Linked DNA regions of Homo sapiens: all the other regions are linked to region 1. The links are contacts of gene promoters, found by promoter capture Hi-C in blood cells and fetal thymus (Javierre and others, 2016). All regions are on one chromosome and are shown on one strand. The core of a region is centred on a gene start or on the middle of the fragment in contact, and the rest is flanking DNA. Distances in the headings are between cores, read along the strand shown. Region 1 holds the start of FBXO40 (F-box protein 40). Region 2 overlaps CASR (calcium sensing receptor). Region 3 has its middle 13 kb from the start of CSTA. Region 4 has its middle 61 kb from the start of CASR. Region 5 overlaps CASR (calcium sensing receptor). Region 6 overlaps CASR (calcium sensing receptor).

Region 1 (3,496 bases), core at 576-3,075:
TAGCAGAGTCTTGGGGTACATATGGAGGTTACAGAGACAGGCAGGAAGGAACCAGGAGTTAAGGTATCTGAATAGTTAGTTTAGGTCTCCTTTTACTTGGCATCGGTGGCTTTAGCCTGTACACATCAAAGGTCAGAGTGTACAGAATCCCTTTTGCTGCATAGGCCACTTCCCAGGATGTCCTTAGCTGAACTTTGAACCAGTGAAAAACAAGAAAATAAACACTGCTCCCTTACCTTGCCAATTTTTAGTGCATGCAACACTATACAGTTATTCCAGAAGCGAGAAACTATCTGTCTAAAGTTATAACTTTTGATACCTCAAGTATCATTAGTCATTTTACTTTTATCCCTCTGAATATGCAAAATTGTTCAAGCTTGTAACAATCTTTGGTTTTGGTGCATAAGCCTATATAAGTTTTTCAACTTGAGAAATATTTCACTTATATTTCATGGATGCATTTTGGACTCAAGAGAGCTGGGGAGAAGAGGGCCACACTTAGAGAATATTGTTGGCGAAAAAAAGGTGTTAAACTCTGCGGAGTTTGAATAGTATATACAGAAAATACAGTTGTGCTTATTAACCAGTAGTATGACACAGCAGACGAAATTTTAAGCTACATGAGAATGACTTGCAAGCAAACATAGCAAATGTTGACTGGAGAAAAGATCACAGCATTTAGACTTTAGAAAACAGAAATTCTGATCAGGCACAGCGGCTCATGCTTGTATTCTCAGCACTTTGGGAGGCCGAAGCGGGTGGATCACTTGAGGCCAGGAGTTCAAGACCAGCCTGGCCAACATGGTGAAACCCCATCTCTACTAAAAATACAAAAATTAGCCAGGCGTGGTGGCACAGGCCTGTAGTCCCAGCTACTCAGGAGGCTGAAGCAGGAGGCTCTCTTGAACCTAGAAGGTGGAGGTTGCAGTGAGCTGAGACTGCACCACTGCACTCCAGCCTGGGCAACAGAGTGAGACTCTGTCTCAAAAAAATAATAACAATGAATTAAATAAATAAATAAATAATAGAAATTCTGGGCCAGGCACAGTGGCTCAGACCTGTAATCCCAGCGCTTTTGGAGGCTGAGGTGGGCGGATCATTTGAGGCCAGGAGTTCAAGACCAGCCTAGCCATCAAGGTGAAACTCTGTCTCTACTAAAAAAATACAAAAATTGGCCGGATGTGGTGGCATGTGCCTGTAGTCTCAGCTACTCGGAAGGCTGAGGCAGGAGAATCACTAGAACCTGGGAGGTAGGGGCTGCAGTGAGCCAAGATGGTGCCACTGCACTCCAGCCTGGGTGACAGAGCAAGACTGTCTCAAAAAAGAAAGAAAAGGGAATAGAAATCCTGGATTCTAGGCCTTCCACTTGTTTCCTCACCACCTCCTCCACTTCCCCAGATCCCCCCACCCATCACCATGTTGTAACTTTACAGATATCATAACTACTCTTGTTGATTATAGAAGAAAGAACCTAAGCTGTCAGAAAGCAAGTACTCTACCTGCTCTTGAAATGGAAACAGAAATTTACACACGGCTGGATCTCATTCTCAGTGCCAGCCTTTCCCCCACATCTTTACATAACTAATTTGCTTAACAATCCTCTTCCACAGGACACAAAAGTGATATGCGGCTCAGCTTCATCTGCATATTCACCACTGAATGTCCTCGTCATGGTGCACCTGCTCCTGTTTGAATACTTACCTTAATGGAACAGGCTGAGTCAGCATCTGCTTGCACCTGAACCCTTGATTGCAAGTAAGCGGATTGCCGGGAGGTGGCTGGGTTGCATCAGCTGCAGTAGAGGACAGCGTTCTGTTGGGAAGGCAGGGAAAGGAGAGAAAACTTCAACAGAAATAGTCCAAGTGTTGCGAAGTTAAAAATAAAACGATATCACAAGGGGCAATGTGACCAGGCTCAGCTTACGACTTTTTCCTTCCCCTGTATTTATCAACACTCAGTCTCTACTGGAGTGGCATTTAGCAGGGGAAACTGAATGGGAAGTGAAGTTTTATATCAATAGGTTTTCTTTCCCTTGAGGAAGGAGGAAAATCCTTTTAAGAAGGATCATTTTCAAGGCCAGAACAGCCTCTCAGATTCCTGCATGTGCAGTCGGCAGGCCCAGCTGTGCTGAAGGAGGCTGGCACAGCCTTCAGGACTGGCTGCTGCTCTAATTATAACCATGCTCCTCACCTAAACCCATCACTGGCTGAAGCAGCAACTTGTGCAAATGACATGGTGTCCTGCTTCAGTTTCTCCTATCTCTTGTCGTGACAAGTAAGTGTCTGTCCTCCCCTGGTCCTTTCATCTTTCCTGGAAAAGGGAGAGTTTGTAATTCAGATACCAGGTGTAGAGTAAATCCAGTGTGAGAGAATTAGAGGTTGTAGGAGGCTTTAGCTGTCATTTAGTCCAGCTCCCTCTTTTTACAGATGAGGAGACAGAGATTCAGAAAAGGGAAATTGCTCATCCAAGGTCACACATCTCGTTAGTGGAAGAGCCAGAGGAAAGCCCCAGAGAGCTTGTTTAACTCTCAGTCTAGCGTTCTTTATCTTATCATCTTCAGATAAACTCATTCAGGATCTTGTGAGTGAAAAAAATATAGAATCCCGGCTTTGGTGTTTTCTTTTTCTTTTTTTTTTTTTTGAGACAGAGTCTCGCTCTGTTGCCCAGGATAGAGTGCAGTGGCGTGATCTCGGCTCACTGCAACCTCCACCTCCTGGCTTCAAGTGATTCTCCTGCCTCAGCCTCCTGAGTATCTGGGATTACAGGCACGTACCACCATACCTGGCTAATTTTTGTATTTTTAGCAGAGACGGGGTTTCACCATGTTTGTCACGCTGGTCTCGAAATCCTGACCTCATGATCCTCCCACCTCAGCCTCCCAAAGTGCTGGGATTAGGTATGTGATTTTGACAAATTTACTTAACCATTTTCTATTTCAGTTTTCCCCATTGTGAAATGGCGATGATACTTGGTGCGACCACAGGTAACTGTGTCAGTACACATAAGGCACATGAATGATATGTACCACATGCCAAGTGCTCCACAATGCCAGCTGTTATTTGAATGTATTTGAATGTATTTTGACTAACAGCAGATGTGCTAAATTTGGCTGTGATTAACAGCCATCGAATTAACCTTTCCCCTGGATTCTTCATACATATATGTCCTTGGAGGTAAACTTATTTGGAATGAGCAAATAGCAGTTGAAAATTGTAAAAAATTTCTACACTGATCTTGTATCTTGAAACTTTGCTGAACTGGTTTATTAGTTCTAATAGTTTTCTTGTGGATTCCTTAGGATTTTCAAGACCATGCCATCTGTTAACAAAAATATTTTAACTTCTTTCTTTGCGATTTGGATGCCTTTAACTTCCTTTTCTTGCTGTTTTTCCCTGCCTAGAACTTCCAGCACTATGTTTAACAAGAGTGGTGAGAGTGGCCACACTTCACTTGTTCCTGATCTTAGGGGGGAAGCATTCAGTCTTCCACCAATAAG
Region 2 (3,406 bases), core at 252-2,751, 670 kb before region 1:
TAGAGACAGGGTTTCACCACGTTACCCAGGCTGGTCTCGAACTTCTGACCTCATGATCCACCCACTGTGGCCTCCCAAAGTGTTGAGACTATAGGTGTGAGCCACTGCCCCTGGCTTCTTTTGCTTTTAAAAAGGAACTGACAGTTCCTTTTAAAATGAAATATAAAATTTTACTTGAGATTATTATCCAATATTATATGCTTCCAAATTATTTATTTTATTTGGGGAGTAATATGAGGAAAAAGAATAAACGAAGGGGAAGAGAAACAAAAAAAGCTAGTAGAAAGATCCAAACATAGGAGTACTGCTTGAACCTGGGAGGCGGAGTTTGCAGTGAGCCAAGATCGGGCCGCTGCATTCCAGCCTGGGTGACAGAGCAAGACTCTGCCTCAAAAAAACAAAACACAAACAAACAAAAAGATCTGAACATAGAACATAACATACAGACACAAAGAGACTTACAGGCTCACAAAGAAAACACCACCAAGAAAGACACATAGATCTAAAAGAGGGGCAAATACAGGACATGCATGCACTTAGAAGCTAACATACTCTTTTATGCCATAATATTCCCATCTTGTGGTCTTTTAGGGTATTTCCCCTAAAAGATTTTAAAGTCAAACGGTTGCTCATTATAAGCATAAATGGAAATCACCTCTTGGCACACATTCTTAGTAGCGTCAATTGAATTAAACTGAACATTAGAGACTAGAAACCCCCCCACTCTGGTCTAGGACTTCCAGCTCTTATACAGATAATGAGGGCCAGGTCACACAGATAATGAACAAGATAATGAAGTTCATTATCTTGCCCAGTTCCTGTGGTAAGAGCATGGGGAAGATCCAGGCCCAATTCCCTTCTCTAACGCCAGCCATGTTTTCTTATCTCCCTTCCATCTTCTCTGGCTGTCCTCACAATTTATCCCCCATTCCCCAACTTCCAGCAGTACCAGGAATTCCTAGAAAGATCAGCTCCATCTGACTTCCATCTTCACCATGGCTGCACGCCTGTTTTCTGACTAGTGAGTGTTGGTGTGAGGTGCAGGAGAGTAGGAAGCACACCTTGTGCATGATCATCCTGAGAGAAGAAAGAAGGTGATTTCATACTTACATGATGTTCCACTCAAACTTGATAGTGGGCACGTGACCAAAGCTTGTCCAAACAGAGCCTAGAATACCTTGGCCACAGTGATTGATTCAAGAATGGGTTGTTGGCTCAAACGGTTCCCTGCAAAGGCCTATAGGTAGTGTTGACAGGTCAAATCAACTAGACTGCTATTCACTCATTCATTCATTCAATGAATATTCCAGCGACAGGCATTCTGAACATAGTACTGAACAATACAGGCATGGTTCTGGATCTTATGAAGCTTAGAGTACAGCAAAGGAGTAGTGAAGAGAGAGCTGGGAAGGGATGTGAGGAGGGCTTGGGGGTCTCCAAGAAGAGGTCAGGAGGCAATTGTGAGTTGTATGCTCATAAATCACCTGCTAGTGCTACTTTTGAGGCATATGAGTTGACTGATAAATATTTTTTTGGGGAGAAAGAAAGGAAAAAAATTGTGATTGACCCTTATAACCAGAATTTTAACTAATAAGTGTCTATTTCAGTCAATTAAAGAGCTGTGGAAGCTTAAGCTGGGTATATAAACATCAAAAATGAGGAAGCGAGAATGATCAGAAAATGTGTTGTGGGAATACGATTTGAAAAGACTTCCAGGGGAAAGTGGATTTTGAAAACAATTTAAATGTTCCTGGTGGAAAATGACAGCAGAGATAAAAATTGATGGCCCTTCTGGTGTGGGCTATGGCCTATGCAAAGATGCTGTGCCAAAAACTAATGAGTGATTTGTGAGGAGGTGTCATGCAGGTTGGCTTATAGGGGAAGAACTGAGAGAAGGCAGACATGGAGTTCCAGCTGGAGACTTGGATTAGATTATAGGTGATAAGTTTCCATATAGATCTTAATATTGAGAATGAATGAATAATTGCTAGTTGATTTCCTGATGAAGATATAGGTCTTAATAATGAGAATGAATAATTGCTAGTTCATCTCCTGGCCAAGACCTCAAATTCTGGAACGCCCATCCAACAGCCTGGGTTCCTGAGGCTCAAAGGAGACTCACACCAAGCACTCAGGACATTTTGGCCAATTTCCCATGTCATTCCTCCCTAGAGTTCTGATCCCATTTTCCTATCTGTGCTGTCTCCTGGGGAGATTTTTCCAGACCATGTAAGAGTCAGGAGAACATATCTTTACCTGGGCCATGGTTGGGTGAAGTGTCTGTGTAGTGGACATTTTGAATGTTGGCTGCTTTGCTTCTATTTCTTCCTCCTTTTGGTAATGGCATCCTGACTTCCCACTGGAGATTCACTCCCCCCTTACTCTAAGTCTATGTAGTCTGGAGGACTGCTAGCATCAGGGATGGATCCATGACTTAGGAATGGTCAATAAATGTGGTTTCTGGAACTTTTACAGGATATCTTGGGAAGTAAGGAGATCCTAGCTTCAAGCTGCTACAGAAGCTGAAAATTGCTAACCCTGGGGAATGAAGAACAGAAAGATGAGATGAAAATACCTAGCTGTACCTGGAACACTTCTGAGATTTTTAGTGACATGACCCACTCACTACATTTCCTCTTTTTTTGTTTATGCCAATTTGGTTAGGGCTTTCTATTACACAACTAAAAGTCCCAGTTGTGACTGTAGCCTGTCATGGCTTTTTTTTTTTTCTCACAGGTCCAAGGTCTGGTCTTGACCATCTGTATTTTATTTCCTTATCTGGAAGAGGAGCCATTGAAGAGTAGAACTGCCAAGTTTCCCCCTTGAAGCCTGTTTTTCCTTCAACCCTACTCTTGTCTTGCAGTTTTTTCAAGAACTGAGGTCCTCCTTGCATTGGACGTGAGAGGTAAGAAAGAAAAGACAATAGTAACAACCACCTAGAAGATTGCTCCCTTACTCCTCCTACTTAAAACCCCATACCTTAGCATCATCACTCCTGAAGACTTTAGAGTGCCTGACCTTTATTACAGCACCTCTATCTTGGCAAGGTAGGGGTTCCGTGTGAAGAAAGAAGCTCTGAGTACCCCACAGAAGTTAGAAACTTTAGCCAACAGTGATGGTTGGGTAAGAGGTTCCCATATAAGAAGGGCTGAGAACTTGAAGATTCTGGCCTATTTGACCAACTTAGACAGTCACTCCTTGTCTTTCATGAGAATCTCTACAGTGACTGATACAAGTTGTGTGCTTTTTGCTTCTTGGTATCCTTCCCAAAGGGTTTGTGGTGGTTGGGTTCTGTATACAAAGGTGTTCTAGTTATCATTTTTACCTAATTCATGGATTAATTAGAGCTGTACTGAAATCCTACTATAATAATCACACATCTGTTTAGAGCTTGAAAGTTTACAAA
Region 3 (3,318 bases), core at 662-3,161, 720 kb before region 1:
GGGAGAGTTAAACTTTAAAACTTCTATTTATTTGTATCCATTGATATTTAGAAACACTGGATTCTTACAGAGGAAGTTTTAAAGACTGAAATAGCGTATTAGCAACCCAAACCTTACATTAAACTAAACAAATGAGGTCTTGGCATAATACTTCTAAGATGTTGGCAATTTACAACTTAAAAGCTCATAGCATAGAAACTGAGGGGGAATATTGCCAGGAATTATGCAAACATACTGGCGGTGATGACTTTGCAACATCTTTCAAATTCACCCTTCCTTGCTGTTTTCATAGCTATCACTCCCTTAAAGCTTTCATCACCCTCTTATTGGCTTATTGTTGACACTCCCTGGTTGGATCCTACCCTTCTAGTTTCTCCTGAAAACCAAGCTCTTTCTCATACACTGAAAAAATATTGCTTCCTAACTTGGGTACTTCCTGTCGTCTATCAAATTCATTTACAATTTTAAGAATAGCCTCCAAGTACTCACAGGTCTTCCTGAACCAGATTCTCTCTCAGAGTTTCTCTCTAGCTGGGTCCTCTTAGATCCTCTTGCACCTCTTTCTCATTCTCATTCTTGCTCCTGTCTCCTTGTTCATACAATGCCCCTTGAAAAGGATGTCATTCCTTCTGTTCTCCATTAATCTACATGCAATACTGCTTTCAAAAACCACACTACCCAAAGCCTTCTGTGGTTTCCTCTAGTTCTTGGTTTGTACTACATATTCCTGTTATCTCAGTTATTACACATATATTTTCTGTTTATCTTCTTGCTGATCTGATTATAATCTCTTCCATGGCAGAAACTGTTGTCTTGATTGTTAGCCATCACATCTCCCAGATTATGAAACACAGCAGCTGCCCAGCAAATATGTGAACAAATTCATAGATCTCACCACTTTCTCATTGGGAGAAGAGGGCAACCAGCCAACATGGACTTCTGGAGTCCTTGAAGGGCATTGGATAAACATGTCTTTGTCAAGTTTTAGGCCAGGCGCTGTGGCTCACGCCTGTAATCCCAGCACTTTGGGAGGCTGAGGCGGGTGGATCATGAGGTCAGGAGTTCAAGACCTGCCTGGCCAACATAGTGAAATCCCGTCTCTACTAAAAATACAAAAATTAGCCGGGCACGGTGGCGCCTGCCTGTAGTCTCAGCTACTCAGGAGGCTGAAGCAGGAGAATCGCTTGAACCTGGGAGGTGGAGATTGTAGTGAGCCGAGATCACGCCACTGCACTCCAGCTTGGGCAACAGAGTGAGACTTCGTCAAAAAAAAAAAAAGAAAAAAAAAAAAAGAATCCAAAGTAAAGAAAATACAACAGAACAGCCAGGAGTTCAAGGTTATATTCCCTGATGATCACAGGGCTCCAGTTTCTCTGCATTGCTGGCCAAGGGATGGCCCAGATGCTTGGACAGTTTGATCAGTAACTTAACAAGTCTGTTCGTATAAGTGAGTTGGTTGGCAGTCTCTATACATGGCCTGAATTAAGCCTGAGGCCTGGTAGTTTGATCCCAGCCAGCACAGTTATGGACCTGCTGGGTTGCACAGTTCCAGGAGCATTATTCATACCGTATTCTAAAATGGAGCTCAAGTTCGTGGGATGTTTTACTAAGAATATTTTATTATTTTTCAGTAAAAAAAGGTATGAAAAAAAGAAGGCTTTTGTGGAATGGCTTTAACTTCATCCCAATTTTCAAAAGAGGGCTTTCTGGAGGTAGAGTACCACAGCAGTTAACAGGGTAGTGCAGGCCAGATGGACAGAAGTGAGGGGAGTCGGTGTAACTGACAAGCACTGGGAATTCCTGAATGAGAGAGCTGAGCATGTCCCTTTGGAGTGAGGGACAGCTGAATTCAATAATCTGCATAGCTGTGTAAACCTGGGCAGGTGACTTCACCTTTCTGAGCATCTGTTTCCTTGTCTGTAAAATGAAGATAATAATAACTACCTCACAGGGTTGTGAGAATTAAATGGAAAATGTATGTAGAAAATTTAACTCCGTGTCTGGTATATATGTAGTTAGTGTTCCTAAATGGAAACATATTTTTGTTTCCAGACACCTTATAAACTATAGCAACCATCCTTACGTTTTTTGTCCTCAGCTGCATTGTGAAGGGTCTAGAAATATAAAGGGAGATGAAGAAAGTAAAACCGGATAGAAGGATGCATTTCGATTTTTGGGTTAATTTTTCAATATTTGAAATAGAAGAGATAAAAGTCTCATCACTATAACCAAGCCAGGTTGGATACCTAAGTAGTTTTTCTTCTTTCCTTTCATAATGTAAAATGTGGCACTTAGTAGAGATGTTGGGTGGATAATATTGGGTGGTCTCTTGGTTACAGGGTCTACTTCTGACTGACTCCTTTACCTTCTCCTGTATATTGTCATCCTTTCACAGTCCATGCCTTGGTCTTCTCATTTCCCAAGTCAGAAAGATGGGTGTTATCCTCCAGTCTTCTTTCATGCTCAGCTCTCTCATCCAGGAATTCCCAGTGCTTGTCAGTTACATCGACTCCCCTCACTTCTGTCCATCTGGCCTGCACTACCCTGGCTCAGGCCATGGTTATCTCACCGCTGAAGAACAGCAATAGCTTCCCCTGGCCTCCTCCTGCAACCATGCTCCTCTTTCTACACACAATATCCAAATATTTCTTCTAGAAAGCAAAGCCAATTGTATTATTTCCTTAATGAAAGTCCTTCAATAGTTTTCCGTTATCCTTAGAGTGTACTTCTCAGTCTTTAGCACAGCCCTCTCTGACCTGGCTCCTATCAAGTTCTCCTAAGGTGCCCTATTCCTCTTGCTTCTTTGCTTAGGTTGGAAACACTTCCTTTTGCTTCCGTTTGCCAGCCTGATTTCTATTGATCCTTCATGCCTGTTATGGTTTGAACTGTGTCCCCACCTAAATTCATATGTTGAAGTTCTAACCCACAGTACCTCACAGTGTGACCGTATTTGTGTGCCCAGATTTGGCAATGACAGGGGAGCTCTTCTTCATCACATTCAAAATTTTTCACTAGTTATGCCTAAGACCAGTGCTGTTCCTGCTTCTGATACCATTCCTCTACCTTATCTGACCTACAAGCCTATGTGAGAAGGTGAGGCTGTCAGATTTCTCCTGAAATAAATGAGACAGAGCAGAGCCTGAAGAGAGAGGGTGGGGTCAGCAGTTACGAAGTCTAGGACAAGTAGTTAGACCAGATGTTTACACAACAGGTTCTTCATGACTGAACCTGTGAGCCAGGACATTCATCAACTATATAACATATCAAGGTTATTTCCTGGTTCTGTAGTCATTTGTGGGGTGGTAGTACAATCATAGT
Region 4 (3,550 bases), core at 243-2,742, 530 kb before region 1:
TAACTGTTGCTCACCAGACCTAGGGTGTAACTTGTTCAGATTGGAGCAGGTTTTAAACTTTGTGACTAAGGACAGTGAAGGATTCTATATCTGTAAGTATCTTTTCTTCTGAAGTGAACAGGTAGACATAATAAAATCCAATGGAATCTCACTTTTATTATAAGATCCACAATGATGCTAGAATATTGGTGAGAATGAAAACTTATACATACAGATGTATGTTTTTAATATGAAGGATTACACTGAAGACTGATGTCAATCATCCTAGCAAGAGTATTCTGATTTCTTTAGACTGTAGTGTAAAGTAAAACCAAATCTGCCTGAGTAAGGGGAATATGTGTATGTGTGTGTACACACACTTAAAAATAGGCATACTGTGACTACGAATGGATACCCAGGAAGCTGGAGATCAGAGTTGTGTGGCTAGGGAAAGGGAATGTGAGGGAGACCTTTTCACTATTTACCTTCTTGTTTCTCTTGGTGTGTTGGACAGAATGAAGGGTAAGAGAGATAGGAGACTGGGATCAGTTGGGAGGTGACTGACATGTTTTTGGTATGAATAAAAAAGGTCCTGAATGAGAAAATAAGAGGTGGGTGTGAAAGTGGGAGGAATGCTTTCCTGGCCTAGTGATGACTGATAACAGAATGAGGCAGGAGCGAAGGGGTGAGCAGTGGGTGCTGAGGGAAAGGTTGAATGCAGTCATCAGAGATGACTCTTTGCTTTCAAGCCTGGGTTAATGTATTTGTTCCTTCTCACACTGCTAATAAAGACACACCCAAGACTGGTTAATTTATAAAGGAAGGAGGTTTAATTGACTCACAGTTCAGCAGGGCTGATGAGGCCTCAGGAAACTTAAATCATGGTGGAAGGGGAAGCAAACATATCCTCTTTCACAGGATGATAGGAAGGAGAAATGCCAAGCAAAAGGCAGAAAAGCCTCTTATAAAACCATCACATCTCATGAGAACTCACTCACTATCATGAGAACAGCAGCATGGGGGTAACTGCCCACATGATTCAATTACCTCCCACTGGGTCCCTCCCACAACACGTGGAGATTATGGGAACTACAATTCAAGATGAGATTTGGATGGGGACACAGCCAAACCATATAATTTCACCCCTGGCTCCTCCCAAATCTCATGTCCTTACATTTCAAAATACAATCATGCCTTTCCAACAGTCCCCCAAAGTCTTAACTCATTCCAGCATTAACCCAAAAGTCCCAAGTCCAAAGTCTCATCTGAGACAAGGCAAGCACCTTCCGCCTATGAGCCTGTAAAATCAAAAGAAAGTTAGTAACTTCCTAGATACAATGGGGGTACAGGCATTGGGTAAATATACCCATTCCAAATGGGAGAAATTTGCCAAAACAAAGGGGCTACAGGCCCCATGCAAGTCCAAAATCCAGTGGGGCAGTGAAATCTTAAAGCTCCAAAATGATCTCTCTTTTGTCTCCATCTCTCACATCCAGGTCATGCTGATGCAAGAGGTGGGCTCCCATGGCCTTGGGCAGCTTGGCCTCTTTGGCTTTGCAGGGTACAGCCCCCTCCTGACTTCCTTCATGGGTTGGCATTGAGTGTCGGTGACTTTTCCAGGCGCATGGTTGGTGGACCTACAATTCTGGGGTCTGGATGATGGTGGCCCTCTTCTCATAGCTCCACTAGGCAGTGCCCCAGTGGGGACTCTGTGTGGGGGCTCCAACCCCACATTTCCCTGCTGCACTGCCCTTGCAGAGGTTCTCCATGAGAGCTCTACCCCTGCAGCAAACTTCTGCCTGGACATCCAGGTGTTCCCATACATCCTCTGAAATCTACGGGGATGTTCCCAAACCTCAATTCTTGACTTGTGTGCACCTGCAGGTTCACTGTGCTGAAGCTGCCAAGCCTTGGGGCTTGCACCCTCTGAAGCCATGACCTGAACTGTATCTTGGCCTCTTTTAGCCATGGCTGGGATGCAGGGCACCAAGTCCCAAAACTGCACAAAGCAGCAAGGCCTCGGGCCTGGCCAGGAAACCGTTTTTCCCTCCTAGGCCTCTTGGCCTGTGATGAGAAGGGCTGCTGTAAAGAGTTCTGACATGGCCTGGAGACATTTTCCCATTATCTTGGCAATTAACATTTGGCTCCTTGTTACTTATGCAAATTTCTGCAGCTGGCTTGAATTTCTCCTCAGAAAATGGGTTTTCTTTTCTATCACATTGTCAGGCTGCAAATTTTCCAAACTTTTAAACATAAGTTCCAATTCCAAACCATATTTTTGGGAATACATAAAACTGAATGCTTTTAACAGCACGAAAGTTACATCTTGAATGCTTTGCTGCTTAGAAATTTCTTCCACCAGATACCCTAAATCATCTCTCTCAAGTTCAAAGTCCCACAAATCTCTAGGGCAGGGGCAAAATGCCACCAGTGTCTTTGCTAAAACATAGCAAGAGTCACCTTTATTCCAGTTCCCAACAAGTTCCTCTTCTCTATCTGAGACCACCTCAGCCTGTATTTCATTGTCCATATTACTATCAGCATTTTGGTCAAAGCCATTCAACAAGGCTCTGGGAAGTTCCAAACTTTCCTACATCTTCCTGTCTTCTTCTGAGCCCTCCAAACTGTTCCAACCTCTGCCTGTTACAAAGCTCTGCCACTTACAAAGTTAACAATGTTGGGTAAATTACTCTGACTTATCTCTGTGTTTATATTTTCTCATCAGCATAATGGGCATAATATTCCATTACCTACGTCACAGGGTCATTGTGAGGATTAAATAGGATAATGAGTTTAAAGGTTTAGATGAGTGACGGGTATATGGTAAATGTGAAATAATGTTAGCTAGTACTATTCTGCCTAATGACCTCTTTCAACCTTCTTTTTCTTTCCCCTAGTCTTAGAATACAGCAGTTCAGAGAATTTAATATACAAAGGAGGGATGTTCTCACCAAAGGGCATGTTAATATTTCATTCAATCTTTAAACAGATATGTTTTGAGAGAACAAAAAAGAATTCTGAAAAGAATACATGATAGCAGAAATAAAAATACAACAGAAGTTAGAAGATAAAGTTGAGGGAATCTTTAAGAAATACAACAAAAGACAAAAAGATGGACAATAGAATAGACAACTATCTTAGTTGTCTGAGGATCCATTGGAGAGAAATTAAACACATTCCTGCCCTCACAGAGTCTAGGTAATTTTCTTTTTTCCAGAGTTTTCCTGGCTCCTCTCACATGCTGTATGTGTATATATGCATTTATTTTATAATCATGGTGTTTTCAAGGAATATTTTTACATTAAGCTTTTGTTTAATGTACATGTAAGTACATAATTAAAAAATTACACACTACAGGTTACAAACTCAAAAGTAAGCTTCCCTTCCTTATTCCAGATTTCTTAGTTGTCCTCAAAAACAACCATTCTTACTTGATTTTTTATGACTTATTACTGAGATAAACATATAGAAGTATACAAGCCTCCTTTCTCAAATAATGGTAGGGAAAAGGGAGGAGGAGAAGATACAGGATGCGTGAGAGGCTTCTAGCCATAGAGATGTAAAGAGAAAG
Region 5 (3,802 bases), core at 1,079-3,578, 650 kb before region 1:
ACCACCCTTTTGAGTTCAGTTGTCAGGGTCGAATTTGCTTCCAAAGCTGAGGGTCATTCTAGATCCTCCATCTCCCTGTCCTCCAACATCCAGTCTCCTGGTCCTGTGATTCTGCCATTGCTTCCCACTCTGCCTTCTCCTACACACTCCTGTGGCCAGTGCCTTCGTCCAGCTCCCATCACCTTCCACCTTCCATGTTGTAAAAGCTTTATTTTCTTTGTACTTGACTCCTGGTTGCCCCTTATCCCTTCTCCCCGCTTCCTCTATTCTGCTGCACGGAGGTGGATATGACAGCTAGAGACCATCTTGAACAAGGAGCTACAACCTAGGAAATGATGGTGCCATGAGCTAAGCTTTTCATAGAGCAGAACCTTAATATTGAACTATTCCTGGACTTTTGCCTGACAGAGAAAAAAGGCTTCTGGCTGGTTTAAACCACTGTTATTATATATATTTTTTCTTACTGTAGTTATCTCCAACAGTATCTAGCAAAGAATCACAAATAAACTCATTTGTTCTCCTTACTATACATTTATTCCATTTAAATCATATATAATCATGTTTGCCTTCCTGCAAATGAGTGTTACAAACAAAGCTGAAGCTAGTATTTGTTCTTTCTCTCAATGGCAGATACATCTTGGAAGAAGAAATGATCCGTGCACCAGGTGGTTTTATGTTTAGAAGGTTCTTGACATCAGGAGGAGTGTTTCAGTACGGACAGATAATGGCTTGTTAGGCTTTTCAGCCAAGGATCGGAGATGAGGGCAGACCAGTCAATGGGTTCCATGGGTTCATGAAGTTATAAATTCGTGCAATGATTTACTCATTCAAAAAACATTTATTGAGCTCTCTATGTGCTAGATACCAGGGAGTGCAAGACACTAGGGAAAGAAAGTTGAAATTTTTGCCTTCAAGGTGCTCAAGGTTTAAAAAGAGACAGAAAGGCGCATTATAAGGACGGTGATCTAAATGTTATAAAGAGGCATGGTTTAAGTGTTGAGGGAGCACAGAGCAAATAGTGATATTCTCTGGTGATTGCTGGGAAAGAGAATTAAGTCAAGGTGGGGACCAGAAACTTCATGAGGCCAAGGCCTGTCTCTTTTCTTCACCATTGTTGCCTAGCACCCAGCACAGCACCTGGCACAAATGATTCACAAATATTCGTTGAACAAATGTATGAAGTGTACACAGTAAAGACCAGAGGCTGGTTGGGCAATTCCTGGACAGGACAAGGAAGGGGTCACCCCACGAGACTGATGGTTCCTGTAGGCAGAGGCTTCTCCATGATCATAGCTGCATCCTCAGCATCAAACAAAGAACCTGGTACTAAATGGATGCTCTAAAAATGTCTGTTGAACTTGTTGTCCAAAGAGTAGCTACGTGGCTAATCCAAGTTCCGGAGTCAAAACAAGTTAACAGAGGATAGCAAAACAACGTCAGGAGTGAACACTGCCACATTTCAATTTTCTTCCAAATAAAAACCACCCCTACTCTCACCTCTTGGCCTCAACATTTCTGGAAATTGTGAATCTCTAGAGCAAAATGATTTTGCTCACATTTCAAATAGAGAAAACCCAGGCGCAGACCTTCTGAACATAAAATCACTCAGTAAATTAAAGGCACAGCAAGCTCAAAAGCTACTATTTTTGAATTCCTAGATGGCAAAAAAAAAAAAAAAATTCTAGGTTGCCTAGAAAAAAGAGAATTATAAGACCAAATTTGATTTCCAATAGAATTTATCTCCATAACGTGAGTACACTGCTATGTCTCTGGTTTATTGTACTGTAATCTTTACTCTCTTTCGTCACAATGATCATAAAGATACTAACAGTAGGGTCTGAAGCCACTATTGCAGAAAGGTGAAATGTGTATGTTTTAATGAGGGTGAACAGGAAAAATAAACCTGAAAAAGTTTAATCAATAATCACCAAACTCACGTGCCTGGCTGTAGTTGCAGCTTCCTTTACCTCTTGCTGAAGAGACATCCACAATATGGGTTTCTATACACAGCTGGTGCACATTTGCCAAAGAATTAGGGACTCTTACCTGCCATCACCAATACGGCCATCCCTAGTTCTATATCAGACTTCATTCCTTCTGTACCAAAGCAAGGCACATGTTGTTTTAAAATGAGGGCCCTCTTTCGGCACTGGGGGAAACACAAATTGCCCGGTCACCCTTGGCTGCCTCCCGCAAGCCCAAGCCCGGCTTCTGCTGTCTGCCTGCCAGCTGCACATGGTCTTGCCCTCCATCTCCCTGACAACAGGTGTGACTTTTGGGGAGTCCATGCCTCATTTAGTTCTGGTAATGGCTTAATTGAGTTGGAAAAATGCAAAGACAGGAGCGTAATGAAAAGCAGCTGAGCTGGGTGGGTTCTTGTGAGTCATTGGAAAAAGCTATCAGGGAAGGGAGGGAAAAGGATGAACAAGAGTGGTGAGGAGCAGCACAGGGCACAGAGCAAAGTGGGGAAACAGAAGCCTAGACAAAGCAAAGAAAGGCTGTAAATAGAGGAAGCTGACATTCATTAATGCTGCATCCTGAGCTCCTTGAAGACAGGGCCAGGTCTGTCCCATCCGCGGCCTGGAACATGGAGGGGCTCCATGATGATGGTTGAGTGGGTGCATACTTGTGTGTACTGCCGGCAACATAACAAACTCTGTGTCCACATAGGACTGAGTGAGTTGCTGGCGACATAGCCCACAGGAAGTTAAGAAACTTCTTGTCCTGAACTGTTTCCTTTATGCCTTAAGTCAGCTCTGCTGACGGATGTATGAACACCAACAGAGTTAATGAAATGGTTCATTTGAAAAGCGAAGATATGCAACTCATGTTTTTATAAAGAAAAATGCCAGAGCCTCAAGTCCTACATAAAAGAAACATTTCTGTGGAATAACATCCTGGCGTTGCCTCTCCAAATCATAAGGAACCCTGACTACCCAGGGTGGCATTTTTCAGTATGATGTCCCAAGATGTGTCACCAGGAAGTGTTCTGGGGTAAAACAAGTTTGGGAACTAATGTACACTCTGCCACAGGAGCACATATGCCTCCTTAAAGGCTCTGAGAAGTCCTGCAATAAAGATTATTGCTTATTTTGGTATGGGACACTTTTTTTCTTCCCTGAAGGACACTTTTCATGATGCCGTGAAACATGGGCTTGGAAGGGCTGACTGAGTGGAAAGCATAAAGTCTGTAATCTGAGATTCTCGCATTTGTTTAGGTGTATCTTTGAATGGGGAGATATGTCTGCCCCTCAATGGGCATAGCAGTTTTTGTAATCCCAGGTATGAAATTCCAAAGGGTATTATTGGAAAGAAGGACTCAGGTGGGGTGGGTGACTGCTGATGTAACTTTGAAGTCATTCTCTGGTCAGGCATATGTTTCTGTTCTCCGCTACTCCTGAGGGATGGGTTTCTATTGTACATAGAAAGTTGTACACTGAGCCTTTCCCCATCCACTTGCAACTCTCCTGACCTCACACAGTGTCTTTGTCTGAGGACCACTGGGGACATGTGGTGGTGTGCTTGTAGTCTGGCTTCTAAAAGAAAAACAAGACCTGACTTGTGGTGTATGCTAAATATTCCCACCATGGTCAGTTTCAAGCTACCAATGGTTTAACAACATATTTGTAAAAAATCTGAATATTTAACCATCGGCTCTCAAGCGCCGATAGAAGCCTGTTCTAGCACATCGTGGGGACATCTTTCTAAGCACATGGAAATTCTGGTTTTCTTTGGAAAACCTGGCCAAAATTATTTTATAGGCATTACAAATCTTCTCTCTTCTCCTGTTTCCTTCTTTGAG
Region 6 (3,344 bases), core at 531-3,030, 700 kb before region 1:
CTTATCTGTTTAAAATTTGGTTGCATGTTTATTTTAAATTCTTTTCTTTATTTTCCTGTTATAATTTTGTGCTTAATATACAAAACTTGGGAAAAATTTAGAAAATCCTAAAGAAGCAGAAACAATTATCCATTAGTCCACTACCAAGCAATCTTCATTTATAATGCTCATCATCACTGGCCATCAGAGAAATGCAAATCAAAACCACAATGAGATACCATCTCACACCAGTTAGAATGGCGATCATTAAAAAGTCAGGAAACAACAGGTGCTGGAGAGGATGTGGAGAAATAGGAACACTTTTACACTGTTGGTGGGACTGTAAACTAGTTCAACCATTGTGGAAGTCAGTGTGGCGATTCCTCAGGGATCTAGAACTAGAAATACCATTTGACCCAGCCATCCCATTACTGGGTATATACCCAAAGGATTAGAAATCATGCTGCTATAAAGACACATGCACACATATGTTTATTGTGGCACTATTCACAATAGCAAAGACTTGGAACCAACCCAAATGTCCAACAACGATAGACTGGATTAAGAAAATGTGGCACATATACACCATGGAATACTATGCAGCCATAAAAAATGAGGAGTTCGTGTCCTTTGTAGGGACATGGATGAAGCTGGAAACCATCATTCTCAGCAAACTAATACAAGGACAAAAAACCAAACACCACGTATTCTCACTCATAGGTGGGAATCGAACAATGAGATCACATGGACACAGGAAGGGGAACATCACACACCAGGGCCTATTGTGGGGTGGGGGGAGGGGGGAGGGATAGCATTAGGAGATATACCTAATGGTAAATGACGAGTTAATGGGTACAGCACACCAACATGGCACATGTATACATATGTAACAAACCTGCACGTTGTGCACATGTACCCTAAAACTTAAAGTATAATAAAAAAAAAAGAATAAAGAAAAATTTGGAGGAGGGGTGACTGACCCAGTATGGTGATTCCTATCTAATATGATATACTTATCTGTTTAAAATTTGGTTGCATGTTTATTTTAAATTCTTTTCTTTATTTTCCTGTTATAATTTTGTGCTTAATGTACAAAACTTGGGAAAAATTTAGAACATCCTAAAGAAGCAGAAACAATTATCCATTAGTCCATTACCAAGCAATCTTCATTTATAATGAGTGTATATTTATAATTTATAAGTTTCTCATTTATAATGAGAGGTCAGATAGAAACAAAACATTTAAAGAAAATCAGGACATTCTGAACAATAACCACATCTTTGGGTTGATATCAACGAAGACAATCACATTCTTCCAAAAACATTTCCTGATGCCTTTACAGGAAATCCTGTAATGACCCCAGGGTTTATTCTTGGGCTTTGATCTCTTACCTATTTTCACCAAACTTGAAAATATTTGCCATCCATGTGCTGAAACTTCAGTCACAGAGTTTGCTGCTTTTATTTGTTCTAACTTCCTGCGCTATCTAGTTACCCAGGTGCCCACATTTTAGAGGCAGGGAGCTGGTGCTGTATCTCTATTATTCCCCCCGCCTCTACCAATAAAATTGTTTTTCTTCTTCTTTTTTTTTTTTTTTGGCAGGGTCTTGCTCTGTCACCCAGGCTGGAGTGCAGTGGTGCAATCACAGCTCAATGCAGCCTTCACCTCCTGGGCTCAAGCAGATCCCCCCACCTCAGCCTCCTGAGTTATCTGCCACTACAGGCGCATGCCACCATGTCCAGCTGTTTTTTTTTTTTATTGTTTGTAGAGATGGGGTTTTGCCATGTTGCCCAGGCTGGTCTTCAACTCTTAGGGCTCAAGTGATCCTCCCACCTCAGCCTCCCAAAGTGCTGGGATTGCAGGCATGAGCCTCTGCATCTGGCCTCAGCTGTTGATTTAAACAGGTACCCCTGCTTGTCTCCACTCCAAGTGTCCTCCACTCTTGTCCAGGGGTCAGGGGAGGGGATGAATGTGGTGGTTATTCCCAACAGAGGAGAAGGTTCCCCTAGCCCCACTCGGTGCTAGAGTCACAGTTGTCCCTCCAGTTCCCAGAGGCACCTTCATGCTGGCTCTGCCCGGCTTCCTGCCCTGTTGGCCTTCACCTAGCAGTTCTCCATTTCTCATACCACTTGCTGAGCTTTTCCTCTCAAGGCTAAGGTTCTTCTTTGGATCCTTGGAATGCACCTTTATTCCTGTGACAGGTTCTACCCTGTGCTTGTTGTTTCCCTGACCCCTGCCTCACTCCTTGCATAATAGCAAAGTCACTCAAAGTTGTCATCCAAGTCTTGATGTTTTTTTTCCATGATCTGGGCCAGGAAAACCAGCATCTCCCAGAGGCTGTGATCTCACTGTGGCAACTTCCTCCCACCTACCCTAATTCCACCCACCTTTGGGAGTATTCTTGTCTCCAGTGGACTCCTAAAATGACCACTCAGGCTCAGACAAATGAGGGCCACCTCCTCCGGTGATTAGCACCCCTTATTGATGTTCCATTATTCTTGTAGCAATAATTATTTCAAATGCAGCAGATGAGCAAAGGGAAGCTCTGGCTGGGCAGAACCAGCCCGTAGCTATGTGATTTCAGCCAGAGCAAAACGACAGACAACATTGCCTTGAAATGTGCCTTTTGGAGACAGAGGTAGGGTAGCCCCAACTTCCCCAAAATCAAAATTAATGCAATTAGACAACGTGTGACGATCATAGGGACTTTCAGGGTATTGATGTTATATGCTGATCGTCACCTCTAAATTTCCAACCTAAATTCTTAAAATCTTCTAGGACACTTTCATTTGAGTGAAAATCTTTTTAACTTTATAATTCATTTTAATTTTCAAAAGAAATGTAAGCAGTTTCCCATTGTTAACAAAACCTAAGAAATATTTTAAAAAGTAATTAAAAGGTGATCATATATTTACCTCCTGACTTCCTTTATTCAAGAGAAAAGCAAACACTAGTTTGTTGAAGCTACCAATTTCAGGTTTCTGCTACTGACAGATAATAGAATGAGACAACACGGCTGTGTATTTTCTATAACCAAAGCCAGCAAAGACTTAGAATATGAGGTTTATACTTTCCCAAGCAGATGTAGAGGAATAGAATATTAGAGGGGAAGGAGTGAGCTAGGTGAAGGGAAGAGGACCACAGTGAGAACAGGAATAGATCTCTGAGACAGGCTCTGGCTGCCAAAACTCAGGGAAGGAGATAACAATACAAATGTATTTGTTTTCTGTTGCTGCTGAAACAAATTACTATAAACTTCATGGCTTAAAACAACACAAATGTATTATCTTACAGATCTGGAGGTCCAAAGTCCTACAAGGGTGTCACTGGGCTAAAATCAAGATGTTGGCAGGGCTGCATTCCTT

What was found. The method cuts DNA at HindIII sites, captures the fragments that hold promoters and counts their contacts. A CHiCAGO score of 5 or more calls a contact.
Region 2: a contact is called between a fragment that was not itself captured here and the fragment with the promoter of FBXO40 in region 1, in 1 of 17 cell types (total B cells). The highest score is 5.4, in total B cells.
Region 3: a fragment that was not itself captured here is called in contact with the fragment with the promoter of FBXO40 in region 1 in 4 of 17 cell types (erythroblasts, naive CD8 T cells, total CD4 T cells and 1 more); the score reaches 7.2 in erythroblasts.
Region 4: a contact is called between a fragment that was not itself captured here and the fragment with the promoter of FBXO40 in region 1, in 1 of 17 cell types (erythroblasts). The highest score is 5.1, in erythroblasts.
Region 5: a fragment that was not itself captured here is called in contact with the fragment with the promoter of FBXO40 in region 1 in 1 of 17 cell types (erythroblasts); the score reaches 5.5 in erythroblasts.
Region 6: a contact is called between a fragment that was not itself captured here and the fragment with the promoter of FBXO40 in region 1, in 1 of 17 cell types (erythroblasts). The highest score is 5.9, in erythroblasts.

Annotation. Positions count from the first base shown.
Region 1 is chr3:121,591,708-121,595,203 of GRCh38, reverse strand. It overlaps FBXO40 (F-box protein 40), which reads right to left and starts at 1,825. Exons shown (of 4, transcript NM_016298.4): 1 at 1,702-1,825. RefSeq lists enhancers at 1,153-1,804, 1,805-2,455, 1,269-2,468 and a silencer at 1,588-1,882. The HindIII fragment of the contact is 3,467 bases long and covers 379-3,496 here.
Region 2 is chr3:122,263,433-122,266,838 of GRCh38, reverse strand. All of the region lies in intron 4 of CASR (calcium sensing receptor), which reads right to left. Among named protein-coding and RNA genes, the nearest start is that of CSTA, 60 kb to the left of the region's middle. RefSeq lists a silencer at 1,651-1,752. The HindIII fragment of the contact is 259 bases long and covers 1,372-1,630 here.
Region 3 is chr3:122,310,446-122,313,763 of GRCh38, reverse strand. No RefSeq gene overlaps it. Among named protein-coding and RNA genes, the nearest start is that of CSTA, 13 kb to the left of the region's middle. The HindIII fragment of the contact is 3,199 bases long and covers 312-3,318 here.
Region 4 is chr3:122,121,228-122,124,777 of GRCh38, reverse strand. No RefSeq gene overlaps it. Among named protein-coding and RNA genes, the nearest start is that of CASR, 61 kb to the left of the region's middle. The HindIII fragment of the contact is 3,590 bases long and covers 1-3,287 here.
Region 5 is chr3:122,246,486-122,250,287 of GRCh38, reverse strand. All of the region lies in intron 1 of CASR (calcium sensing receptor), which reads right to left. Among named protein-coding and RNA genes, the nearest start is that of CASR, 65 kb to the right of the region's middle. The HindIII fragment of the contact is 3,946 bases long and covers 356-3,802 here.
Region 6 is chr3:122,288,313-122,291,656 of GRCh38, reverse strand. CASR (calcium sensing receptor) reads right to left here. Exons shown (of 7, transcript NM_000388.4): 7 at 28-3,344. Among named protein-coding and RNA genes, the nearest start is that of CSTA, 35 kb to the left of the region's middle. The HindIII fragment of the contact is 3,949 bases long and covers 1-3,344 here.